2 separate regions of the Homo sapiens genome follow, and region 1 is linked to region 2. The links are contacts of gene promoters, found by promoter capture Hi-C in blood cells and fetal thymus (Javierre and others, 2016). All regions are on one chromosome and are shown on one strand. Each heading gives the region's core, a stretch centred on a gene start or on the middle of the fragment in contact. The rest is flanking DNA. Distances are from core to core; before and after follow the strand shown.

What was found. The method cuts DNA at HindIII sites, captures the fragments that hold promoters and counts their contacts. A CHiCAGO score of 5 or more calls a contact.
Region 1: the fragment with the promoter of CASC11 here is called in contact with the fragment with the promoter of CYRIB in region 2 in 1 of 17 cell types (non-activated CD4 T cells); the score reaches 6.4 in non-activated CD4 T cells.

What each region holds. Positions count from the first base shown.
Region 1 is chr8:127,732,162-127,735,683 of GRCh38, forward strand. CASC11 (cancer susceptibility 11) reads right to left here and starts at 1,806. Exons shown (of 4, transcript NR_117102.1): 1 at 1,664-1,806. It also overlaps a transcript of MYC not described here. RefSeq lists an enhancer at 475-976, a cis regulatory region at 556-3,298 and a silencer at 1,881-2,000. The HindIII fragment of the contact is 10,989 bases long and covers 1,584-3,522 here.
Region 2 is chr8:130,014,560-130,017,966 of GRCh38, forward strand. It overlaps CYRIB (CYFIP related Rac1 interactor B), which reads right to left and starts at 2,001. Exons shown (of 14, transcript NM_001353258.2): 1 at 1,811-2,001. RefSeq lists silencers at 1,294-1,563, 1,754-1,943, 2,034-2,103, 2,154-2,213. The HindIII fragment of the contact is 5,812 bases long and covers 1-3,407 here.

The DNA.
Region 1 (3,522 bases), core at 556-3,055, 2.3 Mb before region 2:
TGATTATTCCACTGCCTTCCAGCCTAGACTACAGGGTGAGACCCTGTCTTAAAAAAAAAATTAAAGAAGAAAAAACTCTCTTTTCTTTTCTTTCTTTCTTCTTCTTCTTTTCTTTTTTTTTTTTTCTTTTTTTTTTTTTAGAGATGGCACGTCACCACATTGCCCAGGCTGTTGTCGAACTCCTGGCCTCAAACGATGCTCCCACTTGAGCCTCCCAAAGTGCTGGGACTACAAGCATAAGCCACCACACACGGCCTTTTCCTTTCTTTTTCTATTTCTCAATGGATTTTTCCAATGGACACGTATCACTTTGGTAGTTATACATGATACTAGTTGTAATCTCAGCCATTTTTCAACCCAGCAAATGTCTATTCTAGGTCAAATATGTCTCAAAAATTACTAAAAGAAAATCAGTTATGTCCTTTAACCTGGCTGAGGTCTGGCTTTGTTTTCTCTCATGTAAAAATGGAGATGGCACAAAACAACTCCAAGCTGTTACTTGAAAGTAACACCTCAGGTGATGTCACCAGCCTGAGGGAGAGTGAGGTTAAGTTCTGAACCCACAGGCATTATATCTGCCTGGGGTTCACATGCCCTACACTGGACTGGCATAATTTGAGAGTCAGATCCGAAGATGTGGTATATCCGCCATCTTTAGCAACTTTCAAAAACTACCCTATGAGGTCAAGCTGGACCTACTTTTGGTTTTGCCATTGTTGTTTGTTTGTTGTTGAGGGTTTTCTTTGAGGGGCGGGGAGTGCATGCCCCTGTGGAGAGCACTCATTTAGCTTCAATTAGAGTAATGCCAAAAGTGCCAGATTCCTGGGAAATCAGCCTACAAGGCTCCTGCGGGAAGGAACCTCCACTGCCAGAAGTCCTTAGGGCATCTAAGTGATCAGACACCGTCAGGGATTCTTTGCCCCGTAAAAACCTACTTGACCAGGGACACGTGCCAGGTAAATTTCCTTCACATTTACTTCAACCTTATTGCATACTCATTTTAGTATTAAAACCTTTAATAAAATGCTCCTATTCCTTCACACTTTTTTTCTATGAGATCTCAAATACCCCTTCTTGCTATTAAAAAAAATCACTTATTATTCACCAGCCCAATATTTTAAAAGTAAAAATAATAAGCCAAGGCCAGGAGCGATGACTCGCACTTGTATTCCCAGCAGTTTCAGAGGCAAAGGCCGAAGGATCGCTTTAACCGAGGAGTTTGAGACCAGCCTGGGCAACATGACCAGACTGCCTCTCTACAAAAAGTTTAAAAAATTAACCGGGTGTGGTGGTGCACTGCACTCCCAGCTACTGGGCTGGGGTATCAGGCTGAGGTAGGAGGTTTGCTTTGAGCCCGGGGGGATCGAGGCTGCAGTGAGCTTTGATTGTGCCACTGCACTCCAGCCTGGGTGACAGAAGGAGACCCTGTCTCAAAAATAATAAGAATAATAATTAATAATAATAGGCCAAACCAAATACCCATCACCTTCTGCTGTGCCTCCCCTTTCCCCAATAAATCCAGTGTCTTGCTTTCAAATTTTGTGGTTAAAAAAGATGATGAGTTTCTAAGACGTGGGGGCTAAAGCTTGTTTGGCCGTTTTAGGGTTTGTTGGAATTTTTTTTTCGTCTATGTACTTGTGAATTATTTCACGTTTGCCATTACCGGTTCTCCATAGGGTGATGTTCATTAGCAGTGGTGATAGGTTAATTTTCACCATCTCTTATGCGGTTGAATAGTCACCTCTGAACCACTTTTTCCTCCAGTAACTCCTCTTTCTTCGGACCTTCTGCAGCCAACCTGAAAGAATAACAAGGAGGTGGCTGGAAACTTGTTTTAAGGAACCGCCTGTCCTTCCCCCGCTGGAAACCTTGCACCTCGGACGCTCCTGCTCCTGCCCCCACCTGACCCCCGCCCTCGTTGACATCCAGGCGCGATGATCTCTGCTGCCAGTAGAGGGCACACTTACTTTACTTTCGCAAACCTGAACGCGGGTGCTGCCCAGAGAGGGGGCGGAGGGAAAGACGCTTTGCAGCAAAATCCAGCATAGCGATTGGTTGCTCCCCGCGTTTGCGGCAAAGGCCTGGAGGCAGGAGTAATTTGCAATCCTTAAAGCTGAATTGTGCAGTGCATCGGATTTGGAAGCTACTATATTCACTTAACACTTGAACGCTGAGCTGCAAACTCAACGGGTAATAACCCATCTTGAACAGCGTACATGCTATACACGCACCCCTTTCCCCCGAATTGTTTTCTCTTTTGGAGGTGGTGGAGGGAGAGAAAAGTTTACTTAAAATGCCTTTGGGTGAGGGACCAAGGATGAGAAGAATGTTTTTTGTTTTTCATGCCGTGGAATAACACAAAATAAAAAATCCCGAGGGAATATACATTATATATTAAATATAGATCATTTCAGGGAGCAAACAAATCATGTGTGGGGCTGGGCAACTAGCTAAGTCGAAGCGTAAATAAAATGTGAATACACGTTTGCGGGTTACATACAGTGCACTTTCACTAGTATTCAGAAAAAATTGTGAGTCAGTGAACTAGGAAATTAATGCCTGGAAGGCAGCCAAATTTTAATTAGCTCAAGACTCCCCCCCCCCCAAAAAAAGGCACGGAAGTAATACTCCTCTCCTCTTCTTTGATCAGAATCGATGCATTTTTTGTGCATGACCGCATTTCCAATAATAAAAGGGGAAAGAGGACCTGGAAAGGAATTAAACGTCCGGTTTGTCCGGGGAGGAAAGAGTTAACGGTTTTTTTCACAAGGGTCTCTGCTGACTCCCCCGGCTCGGTCCACAAGCTCTCCACTTGCCCCTTTTAGGAAGTCCGGTCCCGCGGTTCGGGTACCCCCTGCCCCTCCCATATTCTCCCGTCTAGCACCTTTGATTTCTCCCAAACCCGGCAGCCCGAGACTGTTGCAAACCGGCGCCACAGGGCGCAAAGGGGATTTGTCTCTTCTGAAACCTGGCTGAGAAATTGGGAACTCCGTGTGGGAGGCGTGGGGGTGGGACGGTGGGGTACAGACTGGCAGAGAGCAGGCAACCTCCCTCTCGCCCTAGCCCAGCTCTGGAACAGGCAGACACATCTCAGGGCTAAACAGACGCCTCCCGCACGGGGCCCCACGGAAGCCTGAGCAGGCGGGGCAGGAGGGGCGGTATCTGCTGCTTTGGCAGCAAATTGGGGGACTCAGTCTGGGTGGAAGGTATCCAATCCAGATAGCTGTGCATACATAATGCATAATACATGACTCCCCCCAACAAATGCAATGGGAGTTTATTCATAACGCGCTCTCCAAGTATACGTGGCAATGCGTTGCTGGGTTATTTTAATCATTCTAGGCATCGTTTTCCTCCTTATGCCTCTATCATTCCTCCCTATCTACACTAACATCCCACGCTCTGAACGCGCGCCCATTAATACCCTTCTTTCCTCCACTCTCCCTGGGACTCTTGATCAAAGCGCGGCCCTTTCCCCAGCCTTAGCGAGGCGCCCTGCAGCCTGGTACGCGCGTGGCGTGG
Region 2 (3,407 bases), core at 751-3,250:
TAAGGATCCTAAGAGAGGCACACAGAAGACTTTGGGAGCTGAGAAAGGAGAAGGGGTGGCTGTCAGAGACAGCAAAATTACTTGAAAATCTCCCAAAGTGAAGGGCAGAAACATATATTGGCCTTTATCTGAAAACCATTTCCAAGTCTCCCTGTGCTGGAACCCACTTCAGCCTCCTGCATCACACACTCTGCCCTTCTCCGTGCTGTGAGCCCAGCAAGGATCTAGAGTGCAAATTCCAATGTGCCTCCTCAGGAAGAAAACTCAGGCCAGCTGACCACTTCTGCATGCCGACCAAGGTAGAAAAGTCACCTCTTCCGGGCTTCCCCCACATTACAGGAACCCCAGGCCTGGGAAACCATCCCAGACGTCAGCCCTGGCTCAGTCTTGGCTGTTGGCCTCAGCCAGTCACCTGGCGGTGGCAATCAAAATGACGCCTTCTTTTTATTTTTCCCCCAGTGCAATCTTCCAAGAATGGGAGAGTCTCAAAGTCAGAGTTTAAGCCCTTTTTCACAAGGGAGTCAGTATTTTCACAAGATGGTCTTCCTCAGAGAGGGGAGGAGTCCATCCAACCCAGATAGCAAAATTGCTCCCTGGAGATCCTGGATGGATGTTACAGGGCAAGGAAGCCAAAATGTGGAAGCACACCGACTCACCTCTCAAAATTCACCACCCACTCGTTCATCTCACAATTATCTATGGGGTGCTTCCCACGTGCTTCAACGCACCCTTTCTAGGTGCTGGGGATGCAGAAATTCAAGGTGACTGGCAATGACACTTTCTATCACTGCGCCCCCTGCAGGCCAGGAAATCTACGCTCGTTTTCTCAAGGCCCCACTCGCAGCAGCCCATTTCACAGACGGGACCCTAAGACTCAGAGAGGGTAAGCGACTTGCCCAAGGTCACACAGCTAGTAAGCGGCAGGGCCAGGAATTAAACATAGCTGCAAAGTGCATGTGACACTCCCCCGCAGCCCCAGCTCTATCCCTCCGCACCCCTCCACCTCTTGCAGCAGGGTGGGTAGCAAAGGCACACTCCAAGTAGCTCCAGCATGGTAAGACCTCGATTCCTCCTTCGTTCCACTCCTGACACAGGACACACGTTTCAAAGGACACACAGGTTTTTCCCAACCCCAGTGTGTGTGTACACAGCCCCAGGAAAGCCCTGCAGGCTGCAAGGGCACCCACCCGCTAACACTGAACTTCCATTTAAAAAGAAAGATAATGAAAAGATAAAAGGCGAAGAGGAAGTGCTCTTTAAACACAGGCGGGTGGCTACCCCAGGAGGAAGTCTTGAGGCCAGTGGAGATTTTGTTCACCCCCTCTAGTTCCTCAAATCCAATGCGACTGGTCTTCCAAGCCCCTGATGGGAGGTGGCCGGGGGCCAGCGCTGCTCCCGGGGTCAGTCCCCGCACCGACACCCGGCTCGCAGGAAGGGTCTGCCAGGGACCAGCCACCCCGACCCGAGCGCCCCCTGCCTCGAGGCGCACAAGGCGCCGGCTCCGCAGCTGGGTGGACCCGGGCGGCGGCCCCGCTGCGCGCTCCCCTCGCGTCCGCCCGCCGCCCCCCGCGCACTCGAGGCGCCTCCCCCGGGACCCCCGCGCCCGCCGGCCCGGACGCCCCCACCACGGCGGCGCCCCCTGTCCACCCGCCGCAGCGCCCGGCCCGGCGGCCCGGATGGTACCTCCGCCTCTCCCCGCACCCATCACGCGCGCGCCCCGCACCCCGCGCCCTCTCCGGGGGCAAATCGGATCCAGGGGCGCGCGCGCGGGCCGGCCGGGCGGCGGCGCCTTCAGAGCCCCGGCACGTACCTGGCGGCCCGGGCGGGCGAGGGGAGCGCGGCGCGGGAGCGCAGGAGCCTCGGAGCCTCCGGTGCCGCCGCCGCCGCCGTTTCCGGGTTGGCGGGGCTCACGTCACCGCCACAGGTTTGCGAGCTGCCCCCGCCGCGGCGGCAGCAGCAGCAGCAGCAGCAGCCCGGGCGAGTGCCAGGCGAGAAATAACTATAAAAGGAAGAGGCGCGGCGAGGAGGAAGAGGAAGCGCTGTTTACCTTCGAGAAGCCGAGCCGCCGGCGCTCGCACAAAAGGAGGACGCTCGCCTCGCGACGCGCCTCCCCCCGCGCCCAGTCCCCGCCGCATCGCGGGGCCCCGGCGTCAGCGCGCGCCGCGCCCCGGGACCGCCCCGCGCCGGCCCCCACCCCAGAACCCCGCGCCCGCCTGGCCCGTGTCCTCCCGAGCCGGGGCGCCACGGGCCCGGGACGGTGGTGACCTTGGGCAAGTCACCGCGGGGCGCGCTGCGATTGGGGGTCATCGCCCTCATTGTGCGAGGAGGAAACCCGGCTCCGAGAGGCGCAAGAGTGACCCCCAAGGTCACTGCCTGTCAGGCAGGGCTTGGGCTCGAACCCCGGTCTCCAGACCTTCAGGCCGGCCAGGTTCCCATCCCTGGGTCGCTTCCCCCTCACCTGGACTTCAGGAATGGTGACAGCCCCTGCCTGGCTCACCTCGCAGCGGGGTCAGTGAGAGGAATGCTGTCCACGCACCCATTCAGCCCTCCCGCAGATACTTACTGGGCCTACTAAGTGCCCGGGCTGTTCTAGGCCCTGGAGCTGCAGCTGCGAACCAAAACAAAATCCCTGCCCGGGAGGGGCAGCGGGGACAGGCCGTAAATATCTGATGGGTCCTATGGTGCTAAGTGCTGTGCCAGAGGAAAAATAAAGCGGGGTGAGGGGACGGTGCGGGCTGTCGGTGCTACCCTAAGCGGTTCTCCAAGGACTTTAAATTTAGTACAGAAATTCCCACATAAAAAGCTCCTCGCCATAATTCCAGTTTCAGGTATTATGGGAGACCTCATCTTTCCCCTGATCTAGAATGGAAAATACTGTGTTTTTCTCCCTGTAACAGGACATGCCTAGGAAACTGATACTCTCCTTCCCTCTGCCTTGCTCCCCTGGCCCAGAAGCCCATCCTATCATTATCTTGACATTCAACCAGAAATTTCTCGGGAAGATAGACAACATTCTCTCAAGTATCTTTCTGCTGTCCTCTAGCAGGGTATCAAAAGGGTTACATCAAAGGCTTCCATTGTCTTTCCACCTCCACCTCCAGCTATAGGGGGGTTGGAGTGTGCTCACATCATACTCAGTGCTGAGTTACCTGATTAGGAGCCAGTTGTTCCATTTCTTTTCTTTTTTCTTTCTTTTTTTTTTTTTTGTCTAAGACAGGATTTTGCTCTGTTTCCCAGGCTAGGTAGCGCAGTGATGCGATAGCTCACTGCAGCCTCAAATTCCTGGGCTCAAGCGATCCTCCCACCTCAGCCTCCCGAGTTGCTGGGACCACGGGTATGCACCACCATGCTCAGCTAATTTTTATAGATTTTTGTAGAGGTGGGTCTCCCTGTGTTGCCCTGGCTGG